Linked DNA regions of Homo sapiens: all the other regions are linked to region 4. The links are contacts of gene promoters, found by promoter capture Hi-C in blood cells and fetal thymus (Javierre and others, 2016). All regions are on one chromosome and are shown on one strand. The core of a region is centred on a gene start or on the middle of the fragment in contact, and the rest is flanking DNA. Distances in the headings are between cores, read along the strand shown. Region 1 overlaps AGBL3 (AGBL carboxypeptidase 3). Region 2 overlaps CALD1 (caldesmon 1). Region 3 overlaps AGBL3 (AGBL carboxypeptidase 3). Region 4 holds the start of BPGM (bisphosphoglycerate mutase).

Evidence for each region. Contacts are between HindIII fragments. The CHiCAGO score rates a contact against its expected background, and 5 or more counts as called.
Region 1: a fragment that was not itself captured here is called in contact with the fragment with the promoter of BPGM in region 4 in 3 of 17 cell types (total CD8 T cells, naive CD4 T cells and naive CD8 T cells); the score reaches 7.2 in total CD8 T cells.
Region 2: a fragment that was not itself captured here is called in contact with the fragment with the promoter of BPGM in region 4 in 1 of 17 cell types (naive CD4 T cells); the score reaches 5.9 in naive CD4 T cells.
Region 3: a contact is called between a fragment that was not itself captured here and the fragment with the promoter of BPGM in region 4, in 8 of 17 cell types (total CD4 T cells, naive CD8 T cells, activated CD4 T cells and 5 more). The highest score is 9.6, in total CD4 T cells.

The regions. Positions count from the first base shown.
Region 1 is chr7:134,997,551-135,003,118 of GRCh38, reverse strand. The region is part of intron 4 of AGBL3 (AGBL carboxypeptidase 3); the gene reads right to left. Among named protein-coding and RNA genes, the nearest start is that of AGBL3, 14 kb to the right of the region's middle. The HindIII fragment of the contact is 470 bases long and covers 1,346-1,815 here.
Region 2 is chr7:134,913,098-134,918,427 of GRCh38, reverse strand. The region is part of intron 3 of CALD1 (caldesmon 1); the gene reads right to left. Among named protein-coding and RNA genes, the nearest start is that of AGBL3, 71 kb to the left of the region's middle. The HindIII fragment of the contact is 3,962 bases long and covers 417-4,378 here.
Region 3 is chr7:135,135,679-135,141,117 of GRCh38, reverse strand. AGBL3 (AGBL carboxypeptidase 3) reads right to left here. Exons shown (of 17, transcript NM_178563.4): 17 at 5,340-5,439. It also overlaps a transcript of CYREN not described here. Among named protein-coding and RNA genes, the nearest start is that of TMEM140, 9.7 kb to the left of the region's middle. The HindIII fragment of the contact is 8,610 bases long and covers 1-5,439 here.
Region 4 is chr7:134,642,606-134,648,379 of GRCh38, reverse strand. BPGM (bisphosphoglycerate mutase) reads right to left here and starts at 1,527. Exons shown (of 3, transcript NM_001724.5): 1 at 1,443-1,527. The region is part of intron 1 of LOC124901750 (a long non-coding RNA gene); the gene reads left to right. RefSeq lists enhancers at 1,191-1,300, 1,401-1,550. The HindIII fragment of the contact is 1,395 bases long and covers 807-2,201 here.

The DNA of each region.
Region 1 (5,568 bases), core at 331-2,830, 350 kb before region 4:
ACACTACTAAGAAGTATGAAAATTTCAAAACCCCAGAAATCATTTAAAAATGATAGACAAAGTAACTACATAAAAATTACAAATTTATGCATGACAAAGACAAAAAGGCAAATGAAAAACTGAGAAAAATAGCATGTAACATATAAGACACAGTAATCAAATCTCCTGCATAGGCAGAAAGCACTTAGAGATCGAGAAGAAAAAAAGTCTAATCAATAGCAAAATGGGCAAAGGATTTCATCAGGTAGCTTATATAAAGTCAGTAGATAAAATGTTCCAATCTCATCCATAAAGAATACATGAACAAAAAACACATATCAAGTAAACAATATCAGATTGTCAAAAACCAGAATGAGTGATTAACAGTATTGATGAGAGTATGGGAAAATAGGTACTCTCATTGTGCAGCACTCAGATGGCCTAGGTTGTCCAAACCCTGTATATCCAAAGAAAGATTTGGACCTTGTCCAACTCCTGGGAGATAACCTCTAAGACCCTGAAATATTCTGCCTGTTCAGAGTTTCTTTGTCTACTTGGGGCCTTGGGCTACATCAGATAGTTTATGCTAATAATGTGAGTTGTGGTGGGGGGCTCTGGGCCACATTATATTAATTTTGGATGGAGAGGCGGGGGACTGAATAACTAAAGCCAGCCACGTGGGCATTCCATACAGACATAACTGGTCCCTAATAGAAACTCTGGACACCGAGGCTGGATGAGCTTCCCTGATTAGCAGTACTTCATGAGTGTTATCTCACATCATGACTGGAGGAAGTAAGTGCTGTCTATAAAACTCCACCAGGAGAGGACAACTGGAAGCCCCCATCTAGTCTCTCCTGGACTCTGCCCTAAATTAATTCAGCTGATTTTAGTCTGTATCATTTCACTGTAACAAGCCATAACCATTAATGTCATGGTTTTTCTGAATTTCTCGAGTCCTTTTAATGAATCATTGAACCTTGGGGTGGTCTTCAGGACTCCTGATCACAGGTGACATCAGAAGTGGGATTCACTAGAATTACCCTGACTCACTGAAATGTGGTGAAAGAGTGGTTTGGGAAAAGGAAGGGTAAGAGGGTAGGAGTTGACAAACCTTTGATTCTGTTTGGCCACTGGGCCACCCATGGTGTGAAGTAGCAGCTGTGTTGCAATCAGTTACTAGAAGTAAAAGTCACCACTGGAATTTAGAAATGATAAATCTAACTCCCAAAGAGTTGGCTCACTGGATGCATAAGGAAATGCAAAATGACAAGAAACAAGCTAAACATACAATCTCTCAGTTATTATGTGTAATAGCTAAAATTACAGTAAAGTGTTGAGGCAAATCCTGACACTGGGCCAAGCTTGAATTTCAGCTGGTCCAAGCTACAGACACTAGCTTCAGGGTTTCCAACAAAGGGACAAATAACATGCTGAAAAAACTGAGAGCTAAAATAACATGAGTCATGAAAGAATAGGGAAAGACAAAAGGAAGAATCAAGGGACTCATCCCAGCAGGTTGGACACTGATGGGATCAAAGGTCTTAATGAAACACTATTGGAGATTACATAGACCAATGGGAGCTCCTGGCATACCCCGACTTTGAAGAGCTTTAAACAAATCTGTTCTATTTACCTTAGTCTGGAGGAATTAACAAAGCTGAAAGGCAAAAAGGACAATAAAAAATGTTACCTCAAATCATCTGTGGCAATTGTCTCACAAACTAATATGGATAGACTGATGAAAAGGGTCAGGGTCCTTTAGTCTGATCCTTGTTTGGGGACATGGGCTATATGCACGTGTGGTTAAAATGGAAAGGGGGTGGAGAACAAGCTTTTCTGGGACTCTTTGACATGGCAGACCAATGCACTGAGGTTCCAAAATCTGTTGGTGATATCCTAATGTGGACTACAGTTAGGTTGGGAGGACTTAGCCATGAAATGGTTGATGAAATTAAGGTGAAAGTTGAGATTAAAACGGAAATATTTAAATGGACTTCATGTGAACTGGATGTATCTCCTTTACCTGAATGTATTGGGATGGATTTTATATCTGATTGGGGAACACTTCCCTACCTAATATTGTAAAACTGAAGGCATGTAAATTTGCCCTTTATCCAGTATACTGGCTAAATGGGAACCTATAGAATTGTCCAAGCCGACAGATTTTAGTTGGAAATAGTATAGAATACCTGGTGCACAAAAATAGAGTACACCTTTAATCAATGACGTGTTAGAAACTGGGCTGCTGGCACCGACACATTTTCTCTACAGTAGCCCTGTATGGGCCAGAGATTGGGGCTTATGGAAAAAGCCTGTGAGCACCATCCAGCAGTGACTGCCGGAATTTGGACCAGAAATTGTTCGGATGCAGCTGTAAGATATACAGCATTTGAGAACCAATTACTAACTTGCTATTGGACATTAGTTGAAAATGCCCCTGTGACTGAATGTATTAGTCAGGGTTCTTCAGAAAAAATAGAACCAGTAGTGTGTGTGTATTTATTATATCAGTGAATATACACATATGCGTATATACATTGTCACAAATTATGGAGACTGAGAAGTCTCACAATCTGCTGTGTGCAAGCTGTAGTACTCGGAAAGCTGGTGGTGTAATCCAGTCCAAGTCCAAAAGCCTGAGAACTAGAAGCTCTGATGTCTGGGGCAGATGATGAATATCCCAGTTCAAGAAGAGAGCTCTCACCCTTCCTCCATCCTTTTGTTCTATTCAAGCAGGCCCTCAATAGATTGGATGATGCCCCACCTCCTTATATTGGTGATGGTGGATCTTCTTTACTGAATCTACCAATTCAAATGCTAATCTATTCCAGAAACACCCTCAGAGGCACATCCAGAAATAATGTTTTACCAGCTATCTGGGCATCCCGTGGCCCAGTCAAGCTGACACATAAAATTAACCATTATACTGAAGGACATATAACCGTGAAAGCTGAAATGCCCACAATGCCTTAAGTGATGTGAAAGAAACACTCTAATAAGGCAGTGCCCAGAAGGGCTCCATAATAAATGGAAACGGTTTATACAGGACAATGTTACTGGGACAGTGCAAGGAGATACTCATTCTGTTCATGTGCAGGAGGTCTCTTTTCCACTGGAGCCTACTTTGAAATCAGCTGAGGAGCCACCAAATCCTATGGCCACCTGGGCTGTGCCCTATGAACAGCTCTCTATTGAAAGAGAGCTACTAGGTTGACTGATGGCAGTTCCAAGGTGGATAATCAACATCCTGTTTGGAAGACTACTGTACTACATCAGATGATGGAAAAGTTCTGATTGAGGAAGGTAAGAACAATCTGCTCAGGCTGAACTATATGCTGTCCTTGCAGTGATGAAAAAACTGAACAAGTATAAAAGTTCCATTTAAAAATAATCAAAGTTTGGGTGTGCCAATGGCTGGCCATATGGTCAAATAGATGGGTGATGAAAAACTAGTCTATTAGATGCCCCATGTGGGGCACCATCCTATGGAAATCACCATGGAATTTAGGGGCACATTAAAGTAGGACATGTCAGTGCCCACCAGAAGAACACTCTTCCAGGATCAGATGATGACTGGACCCAGTAAGTGGAAAACTTGGTGTGTTTACTTGAGGTGGGCATGTGGGTCCATGAAATAAATGGAAATGGGAGAGGTGTAGGAATGTAGGCATGGGCTGATTGTTGGCATATTTCTCTTACTCCCTCTGAGGCACAAAATACAAATAAATGCTTCAAGAGAGACGGAGACCGCAGGTGGCTATGGGCAGATTTCCTGGGGAGCAGGTGGCACACACAACTGACAAGTAACTACATCGGAATGCTGTGGTAGCCCCCAGAGACTATAAAAGGGTCCTGACAGGACTAGACATTTACTCTGGACTAGGCTTTGCACCCCCAGAGGTAGATGGATACAAAATGCTTAGAATACTGTAAAAGGACTGAAACAGAAGATACTGTGGCAATTTGGACCATCAAGTTATATTTCTTCAGACCAAGAAACACACTTTACAGCCCATAGTGTCTAATGATGGGCAAAAAGATATCACATCAAAATGGACTAGTGGTTTACTAGAGAATTGGAAAAGGTAATTGAAACTTTTTTTTTTGTCTAAAATAGGGGGTGATAAAGGCAGGAAGGGCTGACATATATACCTTCATGTGTATGCACATTCAACATGAGGGGGACAAGAGTGGGTCCCCACTTGACAAATTCTTTTATGGTGGATCTGGAGAAGGGATAGAGGAGGACACTGGTACAAACTACAAAATGATTTCTCCAGTCACCTCAACTTTTCTTTTTTTTTCCAGCCTGGGGCAGTGGTTGGAGACTGCAGGTGCTAGAAACAGGAATCATTCTTAAGCAAGAAACTTACCTTTCAACCTTTATGTCGGAATTGCTATGGGCCTAACGGGGTGGACTGTGTCTTCACCCCACCTGGCAAAATTCAGATTGATAGTGAATGCAGCTGTATTTCCTGGTGGTCAAGATAGCCCACTAGTTCTGTACCTATATATCCTTACTCTAAATAAAAGGGAATGAGCTGAAAGGAAGCACGAGCTAGACTGGTATTACTGCTGGCAATCTAGACCAGGACAGTGGCTAAGCCTAACAACTCTTCCAAAGGTGAAAACGTTTGGGTAAAAAATTATGACAAGTGAAAAATAGGAGAAATAGCCAAGGCACAGGAATAAATAAATGAAATAGGTAATGAGGAAAATCTAGTATTACACTGGTGTTTTGAGAGAGGCTCAGAGCAAGAGACTGTAGTCTCTTAGCTTAATTATCCTAGATGCCCAAAAAGGTAAAGTCAGTTTTCTAAGACTAGCCTTACTCTTAGAAGCTGAAAAGGTTGAATGGAAGCCTGCAAACTTGAGTGGCATTGCTCTGGGAGACATTCTGGTCATAAGATATAATGATGAACTGGACCAATTAATTGTTAATGACAGAGGTAATGAGCCATTATCTTTTGATTCTTATTTTTCAGGTTACATCTACTACAATACTGCAGATACAGTATAACATTGGTATTGCTGGTATGATTCCTCTCCCTTAGGTAAGTCAGTCATATGATGATGATCAAATGTATTGGAAAATTGAATCACGGCCTCCTTGGTATGTAATATCAATGAAAAATGGGCTGAGTAAGAACTGGATCTACTTAATTATGAGTTAATTTCTATGCTGAATATTTATGTACAAGTTTGTTAAAATGTATAAATAGCAGAATATTAAAATAGGAGATAATTATACTAGTTACAAACTAGGCTCTTTGTTAAAGAGAGCCTAGGCCAAGGGACAGTGGGTAGCCTGTGTGTAAATGATTAACTCAGCAGGCCTTGGTTGTCCAAACCTTGCACATTGTAAAGGTTTGGACCTTGCTAAACTCTTGGGAGATAGCCTCTGATGCCTTGGAATACCTTGCCTCATTAAGAGTATCTTTGTCTACCTGGGACCTTGGGCTATGTCAGATAGTAGTTTATGCTAACAATTGATTTATTGTGGTGGTGGTGGTGGTAGAGGCCTTGGACACACAGTATCAATTTTGACCCCTGGAAAGGCCAGAGACTAAGTAACTAAGGTCAGCC
Region 2 (5,330 bases), core at 1,148-3,647, 270 kb before region 4:
TTTATTTGACATGATGTTTTTGAGATTCATCTATGTTTATATCAATAGCTGTAGTTTATAACAACAGATGAGGCACAAGCTTTTCCAAACATTTCTTGAGATTATAATTTGTATGGGATAGATGTTTAACTTCTTTTTCAATTGGTGCCATTTTCTTTTAAAACATCCAGAAATGGTTTGTGATATTCAGTACAAATAAAATGAATAGAAACTGGATTTATCTTTTATTGAGTTGCTATTTTTCTCACATTTATTTTTAAAAGAAATAGTGCATCTGCCAACCCCAGTAAATATGGATTTTGGAAGGATAAGTCCATGACAGTTTCCTAAGATAAACTAAAATCTATTCATCTTGCCACAAACAGGGACAGAATTTGCACCACCCCATCTACCCCACCCTATTAAATCAATAAGCTTGCTCAGATACAAACATTCACTTTTTAATTTATAAATGTTTACAAAGAATATGTAAGGAAAGACAGGGTTGATGGTGGAGAAGATATCTATTGCTCCTGACTTAGTTACTTGAATTAAACTTTAGCTGAAATGAATGAAAAGGAGTTATGAATGCTTAAGTGGCCAGGAAGATAATTAAAATAAAATAACCAAACTCCTTCCTCTCTTTCCATCATTATTTAAGATTCAACTGGTATAAATGTGGCTAAAAAAGATAAGCCCAGTTACTACCTGGGTTTTCATGAACTTTACCTTTTCTTCATCCCCAACCTAGAATTCTTTGTTTATAACAGTCTTAAATAATGAGTAAGAATTTTAAATAGGCCTGGTGTGCTGGCTCATGCCTGTAATCCCAGCACTTTGGGATGCCAAGGTGGGTGGATCATCTGAGGTCAGGAGTTCGAGACCAGCCTGGCCAACATGGTGAAACTCCGTCTCTACTAAAAATACAAAAAGTTAGCTGGGCGTGGTGGTGCGCACCTGTAATCCCAGGTACTCAAGTGGCTGAGGCAGGAGAATCTCTTGAACCCAGGAAATGGAGGTTGTAGTAAGCTGAGACCACGCCATTGCACTCCGGCCTGGGCAACAAGAACAAAACTCCGTCTCAAAAAAATAAAAATTTTTTTTAAATAAATATGATCCTCAGTGAACTTAGGCTTTTAAAAAATGTTGTCAATCAAAAGTAAAATCTGAGTTGGAGCTGTTCTTTGACTGCTATTATCTATTAAAGGACAATTTTGCTTTAATGTGCATCGTAGATGTGGACAATAAACCTTGGGCTTAGTCGTTTAAAAAAAGTAAAACATTAGGAAACAGTTCAGACCCAGGTGTCGATGGCTGGCAGCACTATATTTTTCCAGCTCTTTCTCTTGCATAGAGGTCTAGATCTGGATATGCAACTGAATCACACCTGCTCCAGAGCAGGATGTAGGGATATTCTCACATTTCTACTGGCTAAGTTGGATGCAATGACATTTGACCACAGGTATATAAACAAGCACATTATTTTCGTATCTGAAGACAATCACCTAGAAAGAGAAATTTCCACTGTCGTCTTCAAATGTAAAAAATATGAACTCCTTTTAGATAAGTCTTATATTTAGAGTGATCTAGAAGTTCGACTCATCCCTAAATCTGAAATGTTCATGTGATGCAATACTAAAGTCCATAATCTCATGTGGTTGAGCTTCAAATTATGGTACCACTATCACATCGGTAAACATCTGACAAAAGACATAAAGCGATTGGAAAATGGAAGCAAGATGTCCTTAAATGGAGATTATAAGCCTGCGAGTAATTAAAGGGGATCCCTGCAAGGGAAAGTGGTATTGCAGACATGCCAATGGAAACGGTACACAGCATGTGGATGCCACTAAATCAAGTCACATATCTTGTGTCAGCTGAGTGAATTCTCAGCATCCTCTCTAGACAGGCTCTGCTTAATGTGGGGAAATTTATGGGTAATAGATTTTCATAACAGGCCTTTTATGATCTTTCCCTCCCCTAAAAGTGCCCTCTGGAGCTTTTCTGCTTCCACTCTCATTTTTCTTAATTGGAAAAAGATTTACTATTCATTTCCTCCTTCCCAGGGCTCCTTTCCACTCGAGTGGCATTGCCTCCCATCTTGTTCCTCCCTCTTGTACCCCTCATCTCTTCTTCAGACAGGAAACTGTAATATATGATAGATCTGACACTGGGGCATTGTTGCTAGCTCTGCTAGGGAAGAAGTCACTGCCATTCTAACAAGAATGGGGTGAACCCTACCTGCCTGACTCCAGAGGTCCTGCACACACCTATCTAACATCCAGTTGGCTCATACCCCCACTCCATGTGCTAGCATTGGAGAGCTTTGTGTACAAGTGGCAGAAAGTAAAAAGACAAACCTTGAGTGGAGACAGGAAATGGGAAATGAAGGGCCAAATCATGGATGCTTTGCCCATTGAAGAGAATATTTATTCTTGCAGGGGACTTGGCAGTCAACCACTGCTCATGGGTCCCATCTCCCTACTGTTGAGAAAAGAAGTCAAGGAGTCTTCTCTGCTCTTGATAGATCATCTTCCTAAATCAGTGGAAACCTTGCTTAACACAGGGCCTGCTCAATGTGGAGGGAGAAAAGCAAACACCCATTTGTTGTGATTTGGTAAAAAGCCAGCCTGACCAAACCAAACCAAGTAGAATCTTCTATGCTTAAAGACTCCCTTTGAGTTAATAGAAGACCCCTATAAAAATGTGAATGTTTTAACAGATAGAATAATATTAAATAACTAAGCACCCACATTTGTGTGTGCAAATTGAGTTAGAATCACCAACAGCTTAAGACTCAGGGAATCAGGACTCTGAGAGAGGGAGCATGAGCATTAGAGACATTCTACAGCACTTAAATGACTTGAGGGTTCCTGTCTCTCCTGGAACAGATTTCTATCCCAACAAGGCAATTCCATCCTAATTCATTGGTTAGATTAGTTTACTAACCAATAAGGCTTATGCTGTCTTCTGACTAGATCACCAATGTAATCATTAATTCCTTAAACTTGTTACCTAATACAGGAGGAACTGCTTCAGTGGTGAAGATCACTGACTTGACTTAAAAAAAAAGTTCATATTTCTGAATTACAAAGTGACAGCACTGGCACTGACTTATGGGTTGCTAATCTGGTATACATTCCTCTCCCTGACTGATCCACGTGGAACCTAGACTTGGAGGCAAGGACAGTTCAATTCAGAACTGTCATCAGAGTGGTGAGCTCTGGGCAGCAAGGGGGCTGCATGAAGGCCTAGGTTCCGAGGAGGAGGCATGGGGGCCTAGGTTCTGAGGAGGAGGTGGCAAACCATTGTTCAGAACCATCTGCCAGATACCAAGGTGGAGTCTGAACTTGCGGTTGTGGGATGCTGGTAGGTAATGCTTGCTGCTATAACCTGGAAATGGACACACAGGTGGCTGGAATTAGCACATCCATTCAACAGATATTTATTGAACATTTACTCCATTCAAGCCAGTGAGGGCAGAAACCAAGATAAATTCAACCCCTGAAAGGAGTTCATAATCTGTAGGGAAGTTAAGACCTGTTAAGGATGTGATAATAGGTAGAATGTGGTAAATATTACAGAAGACTTAAAGTGATTTAAAGTTTAGAGGAGGAAGAAGGCAATTCCAGCTAAGGGATCAGAGGAGGCTTCATAAAGAAAGTGGTATTCAAGCTGGCTCTTTTGGGATGGCTAGCATTGGGAGCTGGGGGAATGAAAGAGGACCTTTCCATGTACAGAAAGCTCAAATAGCAAGGTTGCAGAATCGGGAAATATGGTTATGGAAAAGCACACAATTCCATCTGGCTAGGGCTTGGAAGGCATGAAGGGCATTAGTGAGGCGCCAATCGTGCTTGGTACATACAGAAAGATGGCTTCGAAGAACTGAGAAGAGCAGACCAATCATTTAACGAAGTATAAGGCTCTTTCCAAAGGCTATGGCCCTGTGGAAGGGAGTCCCGGAAGGGCAGCACACATTTTCTAGTTTCAATCTCCACTCCAGGTGTTTCATTTCACTCTGCAGCTTTCCCCAAGAAATAAAAGAAATTAGGGCCAGCTACCCCATATCAAGGATCCCATCCATCTTAGCTGCAAGAGGAGACTTCAGTTGAGCAAGTCCTACAATCATTTAGAACAGCAGCACCATGGAGGACCCCTCAAGAGCCATAAGCTGTGACTTTACATTTTTCAGAATGGAATTTCTGTCCTTTTTTATTCTTGTCACCTTCTCCACTGTTTTGAACTCACTTTGCCCACCTCGTATTAAATTGGATTTTCACTTATTCTGCTTCCATTCAGAGCCCAGCTGAAATCCACTGCTTGTGGCAAGGTAGTGAGCATCTAAGATGATAGATTAATGAAACTAGAAGGAATTTTGACATTATTTCGAATTCAAGCTTTATATTTTATACTTGGTAACCTGGGATCTAAGAGGTGAAATGACTCATAAAAGTAATTACAAAATCAGGATTGACCCAGGTCTTCAAGTTCCTATACCTGTTTTCTTTCTACAATAGGAAGCTTTCTTAGGGTGCCCTGGAGACTAACAAAGAGCTTCAGTCATCTGAGCCAGGGATTGGCAAACTATGACCTGCAGGCCAAAGCCAGCCCACTCTGTTTTTGCAAATAAAGTTTTATAGGAATACAACCACACCTCTATCATCTATGGCTGTTTTGCACTTCAGTGCCAGAGCTCAATTATTATGACAGAAACTGTATGGCTCACAAATTTGAAAATATATACTATCTGACCATTTACAAAAAAGTTTGGTGATCCATGATCTAAGCCAATGGTTTCTAAATGACTTTTCATACTATACTACAATCAATTTTAAAAATTAAGCATGCACCAATAACACTGATATATACATTTATGTATGCATATACATTTATACGTATATGTATAGTCATTTATAAATTACATGTAGTGTTATTTAAATGTTTGTAGACATTACAAAACACAATGAACAGAAATTTAAAAGGACAGAATGACAATAAAACAAAGATACATTTAAAGTAATGTTAAATTTAATCTATTAATGTTCATAAAACTTTAATTATTTTTGAAACATCTTGGCTGAATGCATTGTAATCGATAATGTGAAGGTCTGGTTCTAAGTTCAGTTTATTTAGGCATTTAGTTTTAAATGACAGTCATAGCCTAATTTTTTTTTTCTTTTTTGAGATGGAGATTCACTCTTGTTGCCTAGGCTGGAGTGCAATGGCATAATCTCGGCTCACTGCAACCTCCACGTCCCTGGTTCAAGCAATTCTCCTGCCTTAGCCTCCCAAGTAGCTGGGATTACAGGCATGTGCCACCACACCCAGCTAATTTTGTATTTTTTTAGTAG
Region 3 (5,439 bases), core at 473-2,972, 490 kb before region 4:
CTATCCCAAAAAATCAAGGAGTGGGGACTCCTCTCTAACTCAGTCTATAAGGTCAGCATCAGCCTGATACCAAAACCTGGCAGAGGCACAATGAAAAAAAGAAAACTTCAGGTCAATATCCTTGATGAACATAGAGGAAAAAATCCTCAACAAAATACTAGCAAACCGAATCCGGCAGCACATCAAAAAGCTAATCCACCATGTTCAAGGTGGATGGAAGGTTGGTTCAACATATGCAAATCAATAAATGTGATTCATCACATAAACAGAACTATAAACAATCTTTCCTGCATCTATTGATCATCTTAATAGATGCAGAAAAGGCTTTTGATAAAATTCAGCATCCCTTCATGTTAAAAACTCTCAACAAACTAGGGATCAAGGCAACATACCTCAAAATAATAAGAGCCACCTATGATAAACCTACAGCCAACAGCATACTAAATGGGCAAAAGCTGGAAGCATTCCCTTTGAAAATGGGCACAAAACAAGGATGTCCACTTGCACCACTGCTACTCAACATAGTATTGGGAGTCCTAGCCAGAGCAACTAGGCAAGAGAAAGAAATAAAAGGCGTCCAAATAAAAAGAGATGAAGTCAAACTATCTCTCTGCAGATTATATGACTCTATACCTAGAAAACCCCATAGTCTCTGCCCAAAGGCTCCTAGATCTGCTAAGCAACTTCAGCAAAGTTTCAGGATACAAAATCAATGTACAAAAATCAATAGCATTCTTATACACCAATAATGTCCAAGCTGAGAACCAAATCAGGAATGCAATCCCATTCATAATAACCACAAGTAGATAAAAATACCTACGAATACAACTAACCAGGGACGTGAAAGATGTCTACAATGAGAATTACAAAGCACTGCTGAAAAAAATAAGAAATGACACAAATAAATGGAAAAACATTCCATGCTCATGGATAGGAAGAATCGATATTGTTAAAATGGACTTACTGCCCAAAACAATGTACAGATTCAATGTATTCTTTATCAAACTACAATATTTTTTACAGAATTAGAAAAAAAAAACTATTCTAAAATTCATGTGGATCCAAAAAAGAGCCTGAATTGCCAAAGCAATCCTAAGCAAAAAGAACAAAGCTGGAAGCATCACACTGCTTGACTTCAAACTATACTACAAGGCTATGTAACCAAAACAACATGGTACTGGTACAAAAACAGACTAATGAAACAGGTTAAAGAACCCATATATAATGTTGTACCCTACAACCATCTGATCTTTGACAAAGTCAACAATAACAAGCAATGGGGAAAGAGCACCCTATTCAATAAATGGTGCTGGAATAACTGGCTAGTCATATGCAGAAAATTGAAATTGGACCCCTTCCTTTCACCATATACAAAAATCAACTCAAGATGGATTAAAGACTTAAATGTAAAACCTAAAACTATAAAAAGCATAGAAGAAAACCTGGAAAATACCATTTTGGACATAGGCCCTGGCAAATATTTCACGTTAAAGACTACAAAAGCAATTGCAACAAAAACAAAAATTACAAGTGGGACCTAATTAAACTAAAGAGCTTCTGCACAGCAGAAGAAACTTTGAGCACAGTAAACAGCCTATAGAAGGGGAGAAAATATTTGTAAACTATGCATCTAAGAAAGGTCAAATATTAAGAATCTATAAAAAACGTAACAAGCAAAAAACAACCTCATTAAAAAAAAAAGGGCAAAGGACACGAATAGACACTTCTCAAGAGAAGACATACACATGGCCAACAAGCATATGAAAAAATTCTCAACATCACTAATGATTAGATAAATGCAAATCAAAATCACAATGAGATACCATCTCACAACAGTCAGAATGGCTATTGTTAAAGTAAAAAAAAACTAGTGAGGTTGCAGAGGAAAGGGAATGCTTACACACTGTTGGCAGGAATGTACATTAGTTCAGTCACTTTGGAAAGTGGTTTGGGGATTTATCAAAGAACTTAAAACACAACTATCATCTGACCCAGCAATCCCATTATGCAGTATATATCCAAAGGAATATAAATTGTTCTACCATAAAGACACATGCATGTGTATGTTCACTGTAGCACTATTCACAGTAGCAAAGACATAGAATTAACCTAGATGACCATCAATGGTGGACTGAATAAAGAAAATGTGGTACACATATACCATAGAATACTATGCAGCCATATAAAAGAATGAAATAGTGTCCTTTACAGCAACATGGGTGAAGCTGGAGGTCATTATCCTAAGCAAATTAATGCAGGAACAGAAAACCAAATGCCACAAGTTCTCACTTATAAGTGGGAACTAAACATTAGGTACACATGGACACAATGAAGGGAACAATAGACACTAGGGCCTACTTGAGGGTGAAGGGTGGGAGGAGGGTGAGGATCGAAAATCTACCTATTGTGTATTATGCTTATTACATGAATGATGAAATAATCTGTACACCAAATGCCCACAACATGCAATTTACCCATGTAACAAACCTTTATTATTTTGTCTTCCACTTGTTTTCTACCTCCTTCTATTTTAATTGAATATTTTGTATGATTTGATTTTTTTCCTATTTTAGTATATCAATTCTACCTCTTTTTTACCCTTGAATTTACAGGATACATTTACAATGAATCCAATCCTTTCTCAAATAACCCTATACCACTTGCTTCTTTGGTAGTACAAGTATTTTGTAACAGGGTATTCCCAATTCCTCCCTCCGATTCCTTACAACATTGCTGCTATTCATTTCACTTATCAATAAGCTATAATTTCTGAATACACTGTTATTGTTTTGAACAAACTATTATCTGTTAGGTAATTAAGAAAAATAAAAGATTTTATTTTACCTTCATTTATTCCTTTTCTATTGCTTTCCCTTTGTTTACGTAGGCCAGAATTTCTGACCTGTATAATTTTCATCCTTTCTAAAGAATTTCTTTTAACATTAAAAAAAAGAGCAGCTCTAGAGATGACAAATTCCCACAATTTTTGTTTGTCTGAAAAAGTCCATTTCTCTTTCACTTTTGGAGGACAATTTCACTGGATACAGAACTGTAGTCAGCGGTTGTTATGGTCTGATGTTGCATCCCCCAAATTTCATATGTTGCAATCCTAACCCCTAGTGTGATCGTATTAGAAGACAGGACCTTTGGGTGGTAATTAGGTCATGAGGGTGAAGCCCTCATGAATGAGATTAGTGATCATAAGAAGAGACGTGGGATGATCTCTCCCTACCATGCGAGGATACAACAAGAAGGCCACCTGCAAACCAAGATGACTGCCCTCACTGGACACTGGATCTGTTGACATCTTGATCTTGGACTTCCCAGCCTCAGAACTGAGATAAATTTCTATTGTTTCATTAAGCAGCCTAGTTTATGGTATTTTGTTACAGCAGCCTGAGCTGAGACAGTGGTTCTTTAAACCCTTTAAATGTTTCACTCCACTCTCTTCTTTCTTGCATGGTTTCTGAAGAGATGTCTGATGTAATTCTTATCCCTGCTTATCTATACATAAGGTGTTTTTTTCAAGATTTTTTCTTGGTCTTTGATTTTTTTGGTATTTATCATTCCTGGTATTCTGTGAGCTTTCTGGATCTGTGGTTTGGTGTCGTTCATTTTGAGAAATTCTCCGTCATTACTGCTTCAATATTTCTTGTGTTCCTTTTTTTCCTTTACTTCCAGTAGTCCCATTACACGTTACATACCTTTTAAAATTGTCCTGCAGTTTTTGGATATTCTGAATTTTTCATTCTTTTTTGCTCTGCATTTAAGTTTTGCTAGTTTCTATTGACATTGTTTTAAGCATACTGACTCTTTCCTCAGTTGTGTCTTACCTGTTGGGTAGTCCATCATCATTCATTCTGTTACAGTGTTTTTGATTTCTAGCATTTTTTTTTTGTTTCTTAGTTCCCATCTCTCTGCTTATATTACCCATCTGTTCTTGCATTGTCCAATTTTCCCATTAGAACTGTCAGCATATTCATCGTAGTTGTTTTAAATTTCTATGGAAATATATGGAAGGTTTGCCAGAGAAGGCAGCAGTTGAGTTGAATCTTAAAGAAGTAGGGGCTGCCAGGTGGAGGAGATGCTGGGCTGAGAGAATAAATAGCTTTTATGAGAGAGTGGCATGCTCAGAAAACTGAAAGTATTGTAGCATAGTGAGGAAGTGGACTGCCAATCCTCTTACTTTGGGTAAAGCATCTTATATTTGTATCAAATACAAGGAGTGCAATTATGGACCAAGGTAAAATTGTTTAGGTAATATCTGTGCATCCCTAAATCTTCCAGGAAACTGGTTTATCACCTTTTTTGGTCATCCACAAAGACAATACATTCCAGAGTTTACAATTTCAAACTCTTAGGCAGTCGAAGATTCAAATGACATTTCACTGAATTAAAAATATTTTCCCAGAGTTTAGGCTTTTGTCCTGATCTTTGTGGAGAAGGGCCAATGGAATTTTGAGAACTCTTACTCCATCCTGAAGTCAGCTACAATAAATGCTATGATCCGGAACATTAACCTCTGGCTTTCCCAAGCCCGAGCACCTACCTGGCAGAGGGCATCCCAAAAGCAAGTAGACTTCTGCTCTTGCCCAAGATAATCACTAAGGATGAGAATTTTATACCAAAAGTTGGGGTACTCTTTGAGAACCAGGATACTTGCCTTCAAAGCACCATCTAATGTATTTAGAAGATAGCTATTTCCCACCAGACATTAAAGATTCCTGAGGAAATCTATGGTCATGGTCCTTTAAAACATAATAGTTACTCTTTTAACAGTGCAGTGGGCTCTCCTTGGAAACTCTTTAGCTACTAGAAATACTGTTGAGAGTAGACCACTCAACCCCAGATCTTCATAGTTCCACCCAGCTGTAATTAGGCTGTGGCCTGTATTTTTAATGTACCTCTCCTACCTGACCCTTCTTATGCTTAGCCTCATCCTCTAATGGATGCCATTGTTGACCTATGACTCAAGGCTGCTTGATTCTGTTTTCTGACTTACTACATGCATCTTGACTCTTCTGCCTGACATACTTGCTCCTCTGTGTGTCCTTCACAAATCCCTCCCAGTGCTCACTGCCTTATGAATGACAAACTGAGGTGCTGGACTTATTCCAGTGTTCACATGAATAAATGGCTGGAGATGTAAACCAATTCGCTGTAAAGGAAACTGTACATCTTTACACCTTTGCTACATTTTGAGAAATAAAATGATTATTTTAAACCACAGTCTATGCATTTCAGTGCCATGTTGTGCCACACTTTTGCTTTGTGCAACTGGCAACTTTTAATATACAGTATTTTTTCTAATCATTGGAAGTGCACAACTTAACACTTTATCTTATTCTGTAATCATTTTATTCAGGTATGTTTTATCTGTACAATTATGTGGTAATCTCCTAGTAGAGAGAAATGGTTCCTAGCACACTAATGATATAA
Region 4 (5,774 bases), core at 278-2,777:
GCAGATCACCTGAGGTCAGGAATTCGAGACCAGCCTGGCCAACATGGTGAAATCCTGTCTCTACTAAAAACACAAAATTAGCTGGGCGTGGGGGCGCATGCCTGTAATCCCAGCTACTCGGGAGGCTGAGGCAGGAGAATCGATTGAATCCAGGAGGCGGAGGTTGCGGTGAGCCAATATCGCGCCATTGCACTCCAGCCTGGGCAACAGAAGCGAAACTCCGTCTGAAAACAAAACAAAAAAAAAACCAAAACAAAAGAAAGAAAGAAAGAAAAAAGACAAGGCCAGGCACGGTGGCTCACGCCTGTAATCCCAGCACTTTGGGAGGCCGAGGCAGGCAGATCACCTGAGGTCAGGAGTTCAAGACCACCCTGGCCAACATGGTGAAACCCCGTCTCTACTAAAAATACAAAAATCAGCCAGGCGTGGTGGCCTATGCTTGTAATCCCAGCTACTTGGGAGGCTGAGGCAGGAGAATCACTTGAACCCGGTAGGCGGAGGTTGCAGTGAACCGAGATCGAGCCACTGCAGTCGCTCCAGCCTGGGCGACAGAGCGAGACTCCGTTTCAAAAAAAATAAAAAATAAAAGACAAATTGACATGAGTTCTGCTTTCACTATTAAAAAACCTTTAGTACCTACAGGTGAAACTTAGCTTTTGATTTTTCCCCTTCTTGGAAAGAGTCTGCATTTAGTCAGCTAACATTCTAGTACCACTCACAAGCTAAAGATCTTCCGTAATTTGCAAGGGAGGCAGTAGGGGGATGAGAGTTATAAGTTAGCTAACAACCAACTATTCTTTAAAGCTTAACTGTGAACTTAACTGCAATTATGCATTTCATTGACCTTCTCTAGTGTAATACCAGCTCGTCCCTTAGAAAAGAGGAAAATACACTTACGTTTTTATTTCTAGTGGTTCTAAGAACTTGTGATTTGGCTCCAGATTCCTACATGAAAACACTGCATATATTCACCTCCTTCTCTTTTCACCGCATTCGAGTTTTTCTGTCTACTACACAAAATGATAGATAGGGCCAGGTCTGCCAGAACCCTAAATACAGCGGCATCGCCCTGCTTCCTTCCAGGGGATCTTACTATTGGAAGGGCTCTGCTACACAGTACCTCAGACATCCAGAAGAGAGTTTATCTTCCCTCCAACTTCTATATATTCTTGCCATAAGGACAGCACTACCAAAGCGGGCTCCTCCTCTCAGTTGACAGAACGGTGACTGCCTGCGAGGCTCATTCTGAGATAGGGACAAGGGAAAGGGACCGGGGCGATAAGTGAGGGTCCCAGCTTGAGGGCTGGAGTGGGCACCAGACTCCCACCAACGACTAAACCGGGGGAAGTAAAGAAACTGGCCTTCCCCGCACCCAAAAATAAAACATCACATCACTAAAAAATGTAAACGTTCGCAACATTTTCTAAAACAAAGCCACTCACCTGCAAAGGGGCCACCAGCAGCAGCAGCAGCAGCAGCAGCCGCTCCTCCGAGCCGCCAAAGAGCCAGCGCCTCCTAGGACTCATCACTGCCGCCGGCATCGACGCTCTTTTCTAGCCCCTGAACCAGACGTGGGCAGGTCCTAGGGCTCTGCCTATTGGAAAGTCGAACTGTCACTCATCCACGGTCCCGGCCTACTCCCGGAACAGGAGAGGTCTCTTCCGTTTACCAAATCCCAGGAGTAAGAAGTGGGGCTCTGATTGGTTTACTCTAGAGACGAGCACATACCTGAACCAGTAAGGAGTTGGCTTCGACGCCAGCGGGCAGGCTTGGGCCTAGGGAAGTAGAAAAACACACCCTAGAGCGTCGCTGGTGCAAAACCTCGGGTGCGGGGAGCATCTTAGCTGTTTGAGGTTCTAGAAAGCGTTTAACGTCTTAAAAGAAACACCTGCGGGTGAAGACAGGTGTCAGCGGACTCTTGGAAGAGAGGAGGTGATGTTTCTTTTACTTATGGGAAATTTAGGGATTGAAACCTGAAGACGAAGCCGAGGTATCCTCCCAGAAGAAGCTCCTTTCGCACAAATTACTCGTGGTTGAAAGTCTTAAGTCGTGATTAAAACAAATGCCTTTAAAGTGCCCAATTTATAGGCAGTAACGCAACCTTACTTTCTCTTACCGCTTTTATAGGGATTCCCCTAGGCAGTTTGCTGACAGTATTTTAGGTGGGGAAGAAAAGTGATTAATGGAATGCCCTAAAAGCTTATTGCACAGAGGAAGGGAGGCTAGAGTGGAATGAGAGAATGACAAATTTGGAGGCGACAATAACTGAACAAGAGAAATCTATGAAAACACCGGAAACCTGGCACGAGGCCTTAAAAGCTTCTAAGCAGGCTTGAACTACCACACGAGGTTTTGAAGCATATGTGTCAGAACTCTTGGGTGGGCGGGAAAGATAAGGAATGTTATGGGAGATTCCCTTCTTAGAAGCTATCCTAAGTAGTGTTTCGTGTCCTCCTGTGAGTTTTTCCTGTTTCATCCTCCTAACAAATGCATTAGGTTTGTGACACGCAAGCAAGTCCTCAGAATAAATTATACATACAGTTGAAAAGATAATCTTTCCACATTTGAAATTCTGTGACACACTCTTTATTGAACTCATTAAGACCTAATCGTAGCCAGTTCTGTATCTCATTTATCCATGTTAGAGCATGACAGTTCCTCCTGGGATATCAACAGAACTTTACTTCCGGGACGGCACTAATCCGAGGCTTGACAGGTCCCAGCAGGTGATAGGTCTCACCTAGTGATAGTTAGAATTTAACTTGCACAAGATTAACTAGAGTTCAGGCCAGAACAGCTGGAAGGGGCAGCTTCCAAATCTTATACATTTGCCCTCTTGCTTTTTTCTCAATATCAGTTGAGGACAAAGTAAGGAGAAAGCTTTTCTTCTACAGTGTAATAAAGCTCCTATTCAGAGTGCCCACCATCCATACTCCGGAGGCTAATGACAGTCATTACCAAGTGACAGTCTTGTGGCATTTGGCATTTAGGGCTACTTAGTCTGGACTTAAGGGCGCCTACTCATTGGATTTAAGTTTACTGTTGTTATGGACACCCATGGAATGCTAGCTTGTCACATAAAACCTTAATATCAAACATCACTTGCCTTTTAGAATCATTCGCAAGAGTATGTGGCTTATGAATGAGTCATTTTGATATAAGATGGAAGCTTATATCAGTGATTCTGTCTAGAAGGAATTAAAAAGCAGATTTTCATCAGGAGCAAGCATGTTTGTAAGACAAATGTGCACAGAGGCTAACAGAATTTCAGGAGTTACTTTTGCCCTATGGCAAGATTGTTCTCCATACTTAATTATGTTACAGTATCATATCCTGAACCCTGTGTCCTGGTCTATTCGATGAGCTGTCTCTCTTATGAATTTTTAAATAACGAGGTCGTGGTTCACAAAGATGATCATAAATCCATTTAAGGCAAAGATGAACTCCAAAGAATATTAGACTTGTACAAACTTAGTACTTGACAGGGCTTTGGAAATTAAACTCTAGCTCCTTGTTGTACAGATAAAGAAACTGAAGCTTAAGTGATGTGCTCAGAATTACTTGGTTGGGGACAAATCCTGGGCTAGGACCCAAGGTTGCTAATTCATATAATTCTGGGAAGATGCTTCCTCTTCCTGCTGCCTTCTCCTCCTCACCCCAAAAGCAATGTATTTTTTAAATTAAGATTAATTTTAGGATTCACTTCCATTGAAGACCAGTCATGAGGACTTCAGTTCTGATACAGCAAGTGATATAGATACTATGAAAATAATTCAGTGTCATCAAACAGCTTTTGATGTAGTCTCACTTTTATCCAAACAAGAAATGAAAAGCAATAAATTATTATAGCTATGTTGTCTCTTTGTCTTCCTTTCTGTTACAGGTGTATATCAAAAAGTCAGTATTAACCCATGTGATACTTTGAGTTTTAGTTGAAAATTGTCTTCCTTGTGACCTGAATAAACCACTATTTTATTGATAGCATACATACCTGGTCAAAATAATTTCACAGTTATGTGCACAGAGCCTCTAGCCTTTTCCACGTATGGCTGAATTGGTCCACCGTGCATCAAAACATCATCCACGGACCTAGGCTATTCTCCCTTTTGCTAGCCTAGCAGAACCATTGGCTCCCTCCTTCCAGCAAACTCCAGAGTTAGCTAGTTCTATATGCCATGTACAGGAGTGTCTCCTTTTCTTCACAGTATCAGGACACACCATGAGTTGGTTATTTGCTGCCAGTGTTTAGTCTCCAACTGTACCCTACTTACTTCAGGGTCAGATTAAAATTTACCACTCGTAACCTAGTATAATAGACCTATGCGTGGCCCCCATCATTGACCTCCTAAGTACAAGACTCCCTTTTCTGAAACTAAAAACTGGAAATGCTGTTATGGGTCAGCCATCCAGACCTCTCAGAAGGGACCTTAAAGTCTGTCCCTTTCTTTCAGAAGTTAAAACTTAGAATCCTCATCTTCCTCACAGAGTAGGGTGAAGAATCATGGAGGCAGTTTTGGAATAGCTTTGCAATCTTTGAAGCACCTTGTGTCTGTCACTTTCCAGCACTGGGAACTCAGGGGCTTAATTGGACTTACAGTTCCATGTGGCTGGGGAAGCCTCACAATCATAGCTAACTCTAGAGTTTGCTGGAAGGAAGGAGCCAATGGTTTTGCTAGGCTAGCAAAATGCAGAATAGCCTAGGCAAATTGCTTGACCTCAGCCTCAGTGTCTTTATCTGTTAAACAGAGATAATACCCAAATCGCTAATGTGAAAATTAAGTGGGATAATGTGATGTGTGCCTGCCACATGGAAAGCATCTCATAAATGGTAGTTGTTATTCTTAACAATTATGGTAATGATAAATGTAAAGCATTTTACCTATTTACAAGTATTCTTATTCAAATTACTCAGTAAAGTCTTGGCATTGCGCTTGCCTCTTTTTCCTGCTCTCCACTCAAGTGGAGACCTGGACTCTTGCAGAGGGCATGAGACTGGGATTTCCCCAGCTATCTTGCAGCTACCCAGGGAGGTAATGGGCAGGAAGTGAATGCCAAAGAGGGTACAGACCCAGTGGCAGAGCCAGGAACCTCTGGTATTGGGAAGCCTGATCTATGTGAAATTCCCCTACAGTAAAACTAAACATTGACTAAGCACCTTGGCATAGGAAAAGAGCCAGGTTGATTTTTTTTCCCCACTACTTTCAGATCTGGGACAAGGATAGGGGAAAAAGGTAGAAACATGAGGAATCAAGAGAGGTGCTTTCCTCTTTTACAAATTCTCTACTCCACTAAGGAAAAACCCATGTTTCTTTAAATGCTTGTTGTTTATATGCTGGTAAACACAAACTCTGCCCTATGGAGTTTTTTTTAAAGCTTATATTTATTAATTATAAATTTATGTTTTAAAATGTTTATTGTATAAGGTTTAGAAAAGAAAAAACTTAAAATACCTATAATCCCACCCTCCAGAATTTATTTTTAACATTTTGTATATCCTATTTTTCCCATAAATCAATTACTTAAAAAAAAACCTGGACTCTTAGTATATATACTGTTTTGTGGCAATCTTTTCTACTTAATTTGTTATTAACATGTCCCAATGTCATTTAATATTTTTCTTCCGTATATAATCCCATTACGTGAATGTGCATCCAGGTGGTATGTACAAGAGTAGAGAACTGTCCAACCAATTCTCTACTCTTGGGCATTGAACTTGTTTCAGTTTCCTAAAAAGATTCATTGATTTAAATGGGCTGCTGCTTTCTCTAAATGAC